4 separate regions of the Homo sapiens genome follow, and regions 2, 3 and 4 are each linked to region 1. The links are contacts of gene promoters, found by promoter capture Hi-C in blood cells and fetal thymus (Javierre and others, 2016). All regions are on one chromosome and are shown on one strand. Each heading gives the region's core, a stretch centred on a gene start or on the middle of the fragment in contact. The rest is flanking DNA. Distances are from core to core; before and after follow the strand shown. Region 1 holds the start of TRAK2 (trafficking kinesin protein 2). Region 2 overlaps BZW1-AS1 (BZW1 antisense RNA 1). Region 3 holds the start of KCTD18 (potassium channel tetramerization domain containing 18). Region 4 holds the start of NOP58 (NOP58 ribonucleoprotein).

Region 1 (2,843 bases), core at 33-2,532:
GGAGGCCAAAGCGGGTGGATCATGAGGTCAAGAGATCGAGACCATCCTGGCCAACATGGTGAAACCCCATCTCTACTAAAAACACAAAAATTAGCTGGGCGTGGTGGTGCGCGCCTGTAGTCCCAGCTACTCTGCAGGCTGAGGCAGGAGAATCGCTTGAATCCGGGAGGCGGAGGTTGCAGTGAGCCGAGATCACCCCACTGCACTCCAGCCTGGCGACAGAGCGAGACTCTGTCTTAAAAAAAAAAAAGAAAAGAAAGTTGGAATAACTGCTAGGATGATAAAATGTCTTCATCCCTGACCTTTCTCACCTCCAAATGTCCTTCACAATTTGTTTTTAAGTGTCATGTCACCACCATTAACCTGCTATTTGGAGACTACTGTACCTCAGACTTCCAAGTCAACAGCAAAGATCTAAAGGTCGGGAAGATTTACGGAGACCAAGAACTGAAAGTGTTCCTTTTGTTCCTATGGTCCATTCCATCAACTTGATGAATATCCTGTGAAGTTACCTTTTTTTTTTTTTTTTCTGACGTAGAAACAGCAGGTCTAAGCAAAAGGTGCATGAGCAAGAGCAAGTAACATCCCTATTATTATGACGCAGATTTTTTTTTAAGTTGAAATTCAATTTTTGGGCTGCTACTAAAAAGGACATGTGCGAATATCTATTATTTACGCTTCAAACTAAAGTCAGCCGTTTTTCTTTTTCAAGATATGTGGCATCTGGCTCAAAATCAATTGCAAGAAAAGCCCAACTCTATTTGACCCAGAAAGAGCTCTTTCCAATACCCTCTCCTCCCACTTACATCACAGATGGCGACTGAAGCTTAAGGTTTAATGCCCGACCCTAAAGCCACTCATCCTAAAAGACAGGGCTCCAGATGGATGCTGTATGGCAGAGGATAAGGCGCTATGAGAAGCTGCCAAGCCTCAGATGTGCAGCTGGGCTGAATACCGACGCCAGCGCCTAGCGCCCATTACTTTGCACCCACACTTAGGAAACAACCCACGCCTCACCGCGGGACCCGGACCCAGCCCTCCAGCACCCAGCCTCCGGCTCCGACGTCCGCGCGTGACCTCCGGGTACCGGAGGACCTTGGGACGAGGAGGTCCCTCCGCTTTCCGGGGAAGTTGTCAAGGGCAAGTTCGGGTTCTGCGCGGACAGCTTACTCACTGGAGTGGTTCGGCATCCTCTGTCGTCCGCCCGCGCTTCCTCAGGAAGCCCCTAATGCAGCGGCAGCCTGAAAGCAGCAGCCGAAGCTGCTGCCGCTGCTCCCACTGCCAGCAACCGCCCGGGCGTGGCAGGGACAGGCGGGCGACTTCACAACATCATCACTCGGCGACCTCGGTTCTGCGGCGACACCGGGTCAATGGCAGCCCCCACACAATTGGGGAAGCCAAAGGAGAGCCACTCTCCCAGCGGCCTCCACGGCCCCAGCGCAAGACCTGCTGGGAATTGTAGTTTCCTGCCCGCCCCGCCTCAAGCTCGAAGGCCCCGCCTTCTCGCTGCCCAGCCCCGGGGAGGGAGGCGGGGCCGCGACCCCGGCGCGGGTGGGGCGAATGCGTTCCCAGCGGGTAGCCTGGGACTGGTGCAGAGTTCCAAGCCCACGGCCCCGGTCGCGGCCTCGCCGCCCTCCCGCGCCCCGCGCCGGGAGCGGGCCTAGAGCGCTCGCCTCGCCCCTCCGCGAGCAGGGCTCTGGCGCCCGCCCCTGTCCGCACCGCTGGCAGCCTGAAGAGAGTCGCTGGCCGTGGTCGCCGCTAGGGTAAAGACGGGAGGCAGGCCCGGGAAGGGAAGGTGTCGGGGCCGGTGGGGGACGTGTGAGGGAGTGAGCCTTGGTCCGCGCACGCCCGGGAAGCCAGAGGCCAGAACGCGCTAGCCCACCTCCAGCCCGAGCACCGGCGGCTGGCGGGAGCCGTGGCAAGAATGCGGCCCGAGGTGGCGAGCAGCCACTGCGCCAGTGCAGCTCGGGCTCAGCGGGGCCCGGGCCGCGGGTTCGCAGCCCGCCCAGTGGTGCCTGCCGGGTTGGCCGTGCCGGCCGTGCCAGGTGCGCGGGGCCCAGGCCGCCCGGGCGCCCTCTCCCCGCACCCCTCACCTTTGGCCGCGCTCTCGGGCTTGGGGAGTTGCCATATCGAAGACACCCTCAGACCCCAGCTCTATCTGCCGCCTTCTGCAAGTTCGCTGCAAAGTCCCCCATAGCAGGACTAGGAAGGAACCTTTTACAAAATTAAATACTCGAGTGTCGTTTTGTCTTCGGTTTTTCAATTCAACGCTGTGTTTTTCCCTGCTGGGTCTTTGTCAAGTACCTTTTCCCCAAAACTTGATACGGATGTGTAACACGGCGCCTGCTTAGCACGGTGCCTGGCACCCAGTAGGCGCTCAGTAAAGATTTGTTGAACGCATGAGTCACTAAGCTTGGAAAATTCTCCTGAACTGTGCGTCGCTATGATCTTTGTTAAGATTTTATGGGTTCCCAAGATCACTTTGAAAATTACAGTAATTTTAAAGCTCAACAAAGAGTTACATCGGGTCATTTTTGCATTCCCTGTAACAGTGGCCTCTGTTGAATGCCTAAATTAACTCAAAACCCGTGTTCTAGAAGATGCGCCCTTTGGTTTCTACAGAAAGTGTTAATCTTTCAGATCAAAGTCTTCACATGAACCATTCTATTATGGAACAAACTGAAATTACTTATAAAGCTTTATCGTAATTAGCGTTTTGGATACAAGTGTAAGGGACTGCACTGATGTACTTGTGAATACGAAATATAAGTCTCTTAAATATGACTTTTTTTTAAGAAAGGGTTTATATTCATATCTCGTGAAAGAGCATGCCGGAGAAAATT
Region 2 (2,859 bases), core at 20-2,519, 650 kb before region 1:
CATCTCACATGACAGATTCACTCTGAATGGACACAACAGACTGACGGCAGAATCATCTAGCCCTCTGGGAGGAGAGTACTGAGAACCAATAGCAATCCACACCTGAAGGCTGCTGCCAGCATCGCTTGCTGGATTCCTCCACCTTCCTCGGATGAGGTTCATAGAGCAAGTGTAAAGTCTCTAACCAACCACGTATCTTATTTCTAACATCCACTATACCAAGGAACAAAACCTTAAAATGGACTCTTGGAAAATTAGTTGAAATGTGTAGGTAACCAATTTTGAAGTGTGGATTCATGATTTGGATTCATCAAATGCTAATTAACTACACCTAGAGTGCAAGTTGATGCTACCTAGGGTGTAGAAAAAAGTTACCTTATGTTTAAATATATCATATAGTTTACACTAAATTTCTTAAGCATTTTAAAGTGAATTACCACATAGAAAGCAGAACATAGGTGAAGACCAAACTCCTTAGGATGGGCTCTTAGCCCTTCTCAAGCTAACCCCCTCTTCATCTTTGCCATCCCTGTCCCAACATACACATACACAGATACACATACACCCTACACCACACACAGCAAGCTGCTCCCTGCTCTAGAATGTGACAGCTACATTTCAGGCTGCTCCACATGCTGCTCCTACCTCCCTCTTCCCCATCTGACCAACCTCTTCTCTTCTGCCAAGACCTACCTCAAATGCTTCCTATTCCAAATCTTTTGGGAACCCCTTCCTTCTCAGCCCTGTGGAGTTGGTCACTCCCTTTTCCATATTCTAATAGCACCTTGTATGATACATTCGTGGTGGTATTGTACCATGTCCCTCACTGGACAGTGCATGTCACAAGCACCATGACTATCTTTGGGCCTCCATTACAGCACACCAGGCACATAAGGAAAAGCAGAGTCCTTCCTAAAGAGTTCTCACCAAAAGCGTTTCTCAAAGGCAATTAAATCTGTTGCTTGTACATTGTTCTTCCTAGGCAAGAAATTCTTAAAATTTCTGAAGTCATGAAACCCCAATGTTCTTAATGGTATTTTATAGCCCTTTTTACCTGGTGATACGGTTTGGATGTTTCTCGCCTCCCAAATCTCATGTTGAATGTATTTCCCAATGTTGGTGGGAGGTGATTGGATCGTGGAGGCGGATCCCTCATGAGTGCTTTAGCACCAACACTTTGGTAATAAGTAAGTTCTCACTCTGAATTCCCGTGAGATCTGGTTGTTTAAAAGTGTGTGGCACCTCCCACCTCACTCACACTTGCTCCCACTCTCACTATGTGATGTCCCTGCTCCCACTTCACTTTCTGCCATGATTGTAAATTTCCCAAAGCCCTCACCTGAAAGCAAATGCTCGTGCCACACTGGCACAGCCTGCAGAACCATAAGCCAATTAAACCTCTTTTCTTTATAAATTACGCAGCCTCAGGTATTTCTTCTTCTTCTTCTTTTTTTTTTCTGAAACAGAGTCTCACTCTGTTGCCCAGGCTGGAGTGCAGTGGCGTGATCTCAGCTCACTGCAACCTCTACCTCCTGGATTCAAGCGATTCTTCTGCCTCAGCCTCCCCAGTAGCTGGAAATATAGGTGCGTGTCACCACGCCTGGCTAATTTTTTGTATTTTCAATAGAGACAGGGTTTCACCGTGTTAGCCAGGATGGTCTCCATCTCCTGACCTCATGATCCGCCTGCCTTTGCCTCCCGAAGTGCTGGGATTACAGGCCTGAGCCACCGCACCAGCCTCAGGTATTTCTTTATAGAAACACAAGAACGGCCTAACACGCTTAGGTTCTGAAAGTTCTTCGTGGCATTTAGGTATTGAAAAATGTGAGTTGAATTCAAAGCACAGGTATAGAGAACTAACAGAGAATTTCATTTCAGCACTTACTATAACTAGTCACCTAGTGCTAAGGATCTCTGTGCTGGGCAAGCCTTATTGTATAAAGTTCTCTGATGCTAAAGCCTTCTATACTGGTTAAGTTCTGGAAAATGAAACTGCTTTTTTAAAGAAAACTAATTTTATCCCAGAAAGATCTGGGAAATCTTCCAAGACTGCTTTTTAAGAGTAGGACCTGAAATGTATCATTAGAAAAAAGGTTCCACTTTTTCTTATCAGATAAATTGACATTAAGTTTACTTAATGGTAGTCCATGGCCTTGTTCTGGAAGACTAATAATCATCAATTCTATCTATAGTTAGCTTGCTTTGAAAGCAAGGCAGCCTTACTTTCTCACAAAGTTTCTGTGAAGAATTATAAAATGCATGTGAAAATATTTTGTAAACAGTAACATCCTCTATAAATTTAAGGTCTACTGTGACCACTCTATTACTACTAATAGTAGTACATACCAAGTAATAGCAGTAGTACTACTAATAATAGCAATAAGGCAGTGATTAAGTTCTATTTAGTTTAGTTGCTTTTTCATCTTAAATAAAAACTTTCCATCAGCTGGGCGCGGCAGCTCACACCTGTAATCCCAGCACTTTGGGAGGCTGAGGCCGGCGGATCACTTGAAGTCAGGAGTTTGAGACCAGCCTGGCCAACATGGTGAAACCCCGTCTCTACTAAAAATACAAAAATTAGCCAGGGGTGGTGGCACGCACCTGTAATCCCAGCTACTCAGGAGGCTGAGGCAGGAGAATCGCTTGCACCCGGGAGGCGGAGGTTGCAGTGAGTGAAGATCGCACCACTGCACTCCAGCCTGGGCAACAGAGAGAGACTCCGTCTCAAAAAAAAAAAAAAAAAAATTCCATCGCACTGAGGCTCCCAAAAAATGAAATGTAGGTTTTAAAAAAGACATCAAAGAAAGATGGCCATCTAAATATGCCAAGGAAACCGTTATGCATTGGAGATAATTTTCC
Region 3 (2,782 bases), core at 183-2,682, 940 kb before region 1:
TCTCCAATAAAATGGAAGGAGACCATTAAAATCTGAGGAAGACCATGTGTGTAGAATACGGTCAGCAACAGAAACCATTATGGGCCAAAGGTCCAGCCTTCCAAAACCACTTATGGATGTGACATCTCGCACTGCCTAGAAGTCCTGGGAGCAGCACTCCAAAGATCCATGTGTGAGAGCCACCTCTGAGGCATGGGATGGAACTTGTTCCCTCTGCCTCATTACTGGCTCCCTGGAATCCTATCTATTCTTCAAGGCCTTCAGCAAACCTAATTTCTTGCATGACCGTCCCACGTATCCTTCTGCCCCCCAAGTTAGAATCCTTGCACAATTCTACAAATATACTGTGTGTCTGTCCACTTTTTACCCCACTTGTTTAATCCCTACTTTTTGGTCTGTAGGCCAAGGAAGCCAGGGCCTGTGTCACTCTTAATAACTCCCATTTACTGAATGCTTATTATGTGCCAGCCATTGTAAGAGACACTTGACACACTTTACCTAATTCACACAAAAACTCTATTGGATGGGAATTACTGTCCCTGTTGACAGATGAGGCCATTGGGGTAAAAAAAAAGAGTGATGTGTACAGGGGCCACACAAGGACTGACTGCTAGTAGGTTGTGGAGCCAGCCCCAATCCAGAACGGCAGGACGAACCCCAAGTTCTTCCTGCTTCACCCCACACCGCCTCCTCCAGCACTGTTTCACCCCTATGGATCCTGACCCAGCCCTTTCACTCTCTAAGCATCTGTCCATCTCAAGACTTGGCTACGATAACACAGCAGCACCCCGATCCCGAGGATTTAAGAGCTACTCCTCCTACCCCAACCCCAGGCAGTCTCTCCTAAGGATAGGAACATCATCATTCCAAGGCCACACCAGGGGGGCACTCCGCAGGCCCCATCCTCAAAAGCACCCAGTTAGGCTCCCTGCTATGTGGAAAGTGTCCAGCCCTCGGGGACAATGTCCCCCAGAGTGCATTCCTATGATCACCTGCATCAAAACCATCAGGGACGCTTGGGAAAACGAAGACACTCCGGCCACAGCACACAGTTCCTCAGAAAGTCTGAGGAGGGGTCGGGATCTGCCCGCGAACCCCACTTTGAAAAACATCGCTCAAGGGGCTCACACTCCTCTTCCGAAGCGGGAAGAGCCGGGAGGAGCTGGGGAGCCAGAAAGCCCCGCCACGGTCTTCCGCGGCCTGGAGACCCCAAATCGGCCCGAAGCCCGAGCCTGCAGCCCGGGGCGCGCGCGTTACCAGCGCGGCCCGTGCCCTTCCTCAGGGCGCCCCGCCGCCTTCCGGGCCCGCGGCCCATCCCGCGCCCGGCTCTTCCGCACCGGGGGGGTGGGGCGGGTCGGCAGCTTCCCAGACTGACCTGCGGCCCGCCAGACCCTCGGCGCGGCCGCCGGACGCCGCGGGGCGGACGCGGAAGTGAACGCCTTCTCAGCTGCTCGGCAACTCGGGAGCAGAGCGGCCCCAGCGGCGCCCCCGTGCGGCCCGGCTCTGAGGCAGCGGCTCAGGGAGGGAGGGAGGCCACGTCCCGGGCACGCCACGCCACGCCACGCCCCGCCCCCAGATTCGTCTCGCCCCAGTGGGCCGCCTCGGAGTCGGGTGGGTCTTCCATCCCGGAGGTAAGGGAAACACACGGTAGAGAAGGCCAGGGCTGAACCCCAAGGGACGGTCTTGTGTGTTCAGAGGCTGGTTTTACAGGTGAAGAGAAGAAACAGCCGCAGAAGTTGCGATTGTCCAAGGTCACTTAATAAGTGGCAAGAATTAGGATGTTAAGTGTTCTCACCCCCAGGTCAGTGCCCATCCCTCCAAACAGGGCTGCTCAGTGCCAACGTGTGTTAATATATTGCACTTGGATAAGTCTATCTGGATAGTGTCTGCAGCTTACAAAGCTTTTTCACACACAGCATTCTTGTTTAGTCTGTGTGACAGTGATATAAAGGGTGATATTTATTTCCCATTATAGCAAGGAAAATTGAGGCGAGAGCAAACATTTATTCAACACTTTTGTACACCTGACACTGTGCTAAGTGCTTTGCATGCACTACTTAATTTCCTGTTAACGATAACCCTAAAACAGTTCTTCCAGTTTCTAGCACCATCTTACCTTGTGCAAGGTACTGTGCTAGATATTTCAAGAGAAATATAACAGTCCTGTTTTCAAGGTGCTTCCCCAAAATCAAAAATATTTGGTTCCAAATTTCCCTGACTGGCTCTTAGAAGAGAATAAGCCAAAGAGAGGTAAGTCAACCTATCCCCTTAGATATTAACAGTCTTAGGAGAGAGGGAAGGTTTGTTCAACCTGTAATTATTAAGCACTAGCTATGGAGCAAGCACTGAGAGTAAAGGACTGGAAGAGACAAATAATGGGCGTTCAACCTTACTTTCCAGTACAACATGCAGAAAACTTGTTCTGTAAATATTTTAGGCTTTGTGGGCCATGCACAACTACTCAACTCAGCAGTTGTAGTCTAAAAGAAGGCATAGGCAAAACCTGAACAAATGAGCATTGCTAGTTCCAACTTTATGGACACTGAAATTCCAATTTCACATAATTTTCATGTGTCAAAAAATATTCTTTTAAAAATGCAGCTTTTTCAAACACTTAAATATGTACAAGCCATTCTTAGATCATGGGCCAGACAAAAACAAATGGTGGTCCATGGGCCATAGTTTGCCTGCCCTTGTTCAAGTGGGAGAAACAGACACTAAGCAAAGTGGTGACAGAGAGTGATAACTAGGTGCGAGGAAATGAGTGGACATTTAAGTTGAG
Region 4 (3,032 bases), core at 184-2,683, 810 kb after region 1:
CCTGGGGTCATTTTAACAAATGCAGCAAAAATAGGAGAGGCTTATTGAAAGAAAACTGTGCTAATAATTCATTTGGCCAGACAGAAGGGAACGGCCAGGAATGCTCACAAATATAGTGACAGTAATGGTGTCATTCTGAGGCCTTCGCCTCAAGGCAGGGCTTGAAAGGGGATAAAGTCTAATGGCACTAGCTGGCATTTCAAATTCTAGATGCCTGAGGCAGACTGGCACCGAAACAGCTCCTCGTTTCTCTCAAAGTGAACATATAATTCATAGAGGGTTAACAAAATAATATCGTGAAGTTTTTCCCCTTTAAATCTCTAGCGGTGGCGGGGCGCGGTGGCTCACGCCTGTAATCCCAGCACTTTGGGAGGCCGAGGTGGGAGGATCCCTTGAGGTCAAGAGTCCGAGACCAGCCTGGGCAACATCGTGAAACCCTGTCTCTACAAAAAATTAGCTGGGTGTGGTGGCACAGGCCTGTAGTCCCAGCTGCTCCGGAGGGTGAAGTGGGAGGATCGCTTGAGCCTGGGAGTTGGAGGTTGCAGTGAGCCGTGATAGTGCCACTGCACTCCAGCTTGGGCAACAGCCAGACTGTCTCAAAAAAAAAAAAAAAAAAAAAAAAAAAAAAAAAAAAGGCCGGGCCTAGTGGGTCACGCCTGTAATCCCAGCACTTTGGGAGGCCGAGGCGGGCGTATCACGAGGTCAAGAGATCGAGACTATCCTGGCCAACATGCTGAAACCCCATCTCTACTAAAAATACAAAAATTAGCTGGGCGTGGTGGTGTGTGCCTCTAGTCCCAGCTACTGGGGAGGCTGAGGCAGGAGAATTTCTTTTTTTTTTTTTTTTTTTGAGACGGAGTCTCGCTCTGTCGCCCAGGCTGGAGTGCAGTGGCAGGATCTTGGTTCACTGCAAGCTCCGCCCCCTGGGTTCAGGCCATTCTCCTGCCTCAGCCTCCCGAGTAGCTGGGACTACAGGCGCCTGCAACCACACCCGGCTAATTTTTTGTATTTTTAGTAGAGACGGAGTTTCACCGTGTTAGCCAGGATGGTCTCGATCGATCTCCTGACCTTGTGATCCGCCCGCCTCGGCCTCCCAAAGTGCTGGGATTACAGGCGTGAGCCACTGCGCCCGGCTAGGAGAATTTCTTGAACCCGGGAGGCGGAGGTTGCAGTAAGCCGAGATCACACCACTGCACTCCAGCCTGGGTTACAGAGCGAGACTCCGTCTCCAAAAAAGAAAAAAAGAAAAAAGAAAAAAAGGCGCAAAGGCTCCGTTCAGGCCCTAGATCCCGCGATACAAACTTTCTCGGCCCGCCCCAGCCCGCTGTGGCGGGAACATTCTGGAAGTGACGGCAATCTCTGCGGCAGTCTTCTGTCGGAAGTGACGTTGCTATCCCAGAATCCTCAGAGAAGGAGTAGCGCGTTCGTGCGTCCTAGTTCCAGTACAGCGTGGAGGGTTTAGGCAGCGTGTTCTGATTCTTTGCGGGACGGCGAGCGCATTTGTGCTTTGCCCGCCGCGGCCTAGGAGGCCTTTTGAGGCCGCGTAGTCGGTGTTTTTGAACTGACTCTACAGCTTCTGGCAGGCCGTGCGGCGCCCTGACCCGGCCTCACCATGTTGGTGCTGTTTGAAACGTCTGTGGGTTACGCCATCTTTAAGGTAGGTGGGAGAGCGAGCCGTTAAAGGGGGAAGGCGGATGCTGGACAGACGAGGAGAGGGAAAGACTTAAGCACGGAACTACTCAGAGTAGCGTGGGTGCCTGTTATAGCCCGGGCTCTGGGAGGAGGGAGAAGGCCTTTACACCTGAGAGCCATGTTACGTGTAACACGTGGCCCCGCCGTTTGGGGAGACCCGTTCTGCATTAGAGGATTTTATTTCCTCCCGTTGAAGGGGTGGGCAGGAGGCGTGTTAGAATTTAACAGATTATAGGGAATTCGGACTTTATTCTAGATGTTTTGAGGAATGATCGAAAGATTTTTTTTTTTTTTGAGATGGAGTTTCGCTCTTGTTGCCCATGCTGGAGTGCAGTGGCGCAATCTTGGCTCACTGCAACCTCCGTCTCCCGGGTTCAAGCGATTCTCCTGCCTTGGCCTCCCGAGTAGCTGGGATTACAGGCCTCCATCCACCACCACGCCTGGCTAGTTGTTTTTGTTTGTTTGTTTGCTTTTAGTAGAGACGGGGTTTCACCATGTTGGCCAGGCTGGTCTTGAACTCCTGACCTCAAGCGATCCACCTGCCTCGGCCTCCCAAAGTGCTGGGATTACAGGCGTGAGCCACCGTGCTCGGCCAATCGAAAGGATTTAAGCAGAGGAATGACCTGCTAATTTGTCTTAATACGGTTACTCTGCTGTGTGGAGATTAGACTCGAGGAGATAAGAACGGCAGCAAGAATACTTTTGCATTCATTTGGACAAGATGAAATTGCCTGGTATGGAGAGAAACAAATATCGATAGAAATTGTGAAGGTAGAACAGGAAGGACTGGCTAATAGATTGAATGTGGGGTTTTGGTTTAAATAAGATGTTAAGAAAGTTTCTTGGGGAAGGACTAAAGATTTCCGGTTTGGGCTGTGCGAAGCTTGCGTTGTCTATTAGACCTGATAATGCAGTTGTGTAGATCGGGCAGTTCAGTATTTCAGATTTGAAGCTTAGGGGAAAACATCTGGGCTGGTGATGTCAGTTTGAGGTTTGGTTGTTTTCGTGGGGAAAGTTTGACAAGTTCGTCAGCACTGAAATGGTTGAATGGTAAGACATTCGTATCGCAAGATGCTGTTGAGATGTTAGGAAGAATGAGTGAGATTGAGTGCCTTTTCTTGTGCGGTGCAACTCTTCTGAGGTCTGTGAATATAGCAATGAAAAATAAAGTTTTTATGTATATTCTACATATATATATGTTGGTAGAAAGCAAAAACGCTAGGTAAAAATAAATGTAATACAATTTTAGCTATGAACCAAAAAACCATTTGTGGTGTGGATGCAAGAAAGTCTGGATGGGTGCAGAGTTCTCCATGTTTCACTTCTGACATTTGAAAATA

What was found. The method cuts DNA at HindIII sites, captures the fragments that hold promoters and counts their contacts. A CHiCAGO score of 5 or more calls a contact.
Region 2: a contact is called between a fragment that was not itself captured here and the fragment with the promoter of TRAK2 in region 1, in 1 of 17 cell types (neutrophils). The highest score is 9.7, in neutrophils.
Region 3: a contact is called between the fragment with the promoter of KCTD18 here and the fragment with the promoter of TRAK2 in region 1, in 7 of 17 cell types (monocytes, fetal thymus, non-activated CD4 T cells and 4 more). The highest score is 11.6, in monocytes.
Region 4: the fragment with the promoter of NOP58 here is called in contact with the fragment with the promoter of TRAK2 in region 1 in 1 of 17 cell types (fetal thymus); the score reaches 7.0 in fetal thymus.

What each region holds. Positions count from the first base shown.
Region 1 is chr2:201,450,176-201,453,018 of GRCh38, forward strand. It overlaps TRAK2 (trafficking kinesin protein 2), which reads right to left and starts at 1,283. Exons shown (of 16, transcript NM_015049.3): 1 at 1,175-1,283. STRADB (STE20 related adaptor beta) reads left to right here and starts at 1,565. Exons shown (of 12, transcript NM_018571.6): 1 at 1,565-1,763. RefSeq lists enhancers at 638-1,492, 896-1,425 and a silencer at 1,456-2,135. The HindIII fragment of the contact is 1,586 bases long and covers 825-2,410 here.
Region 2 is chr2:200,804,475-200,807,333 of GRCh38, forward strand. All of the region lies in intron 1 of BZW1-AS1 (BZW1 antisense RNA 1), which reads right to left. Among named protein-coding and RNA genes, the nearest start is that of BZW1, 6.0 kb to the right of the region's middle. The HindIII fragment of the contact is 4,582 bases long and covers 1-2,859 here.
Region 3 is chr2:200,508,636-200,511,417 of GRCh38, forward strand. KCTD18 (potassium channel tetramerization domain containing 18) reads right to left here and starts at 1,433. Exons shown (of 7, transcript NM_152387.4): 1 at 993-1,433. RefSeq lists a silencer at 1,206-1,665. The HindIII fragment of the contact is 2,465 bases long and covers 1-1,899 here.
Region 4 is chr2:202,264,330-202,267,361 of GRCh38, forward strand. It overlaps NOP58 (NOP58 ribonucleoprotein), which reads left to right and starts at 1,434. Exons shown (of 15, transcript NM_015934.5): 1 at 1,434-1,657. The coding sequence starts at 1,613. The HindIII fragment of the contact is 14,423 bases long and covers 1-2,573 here.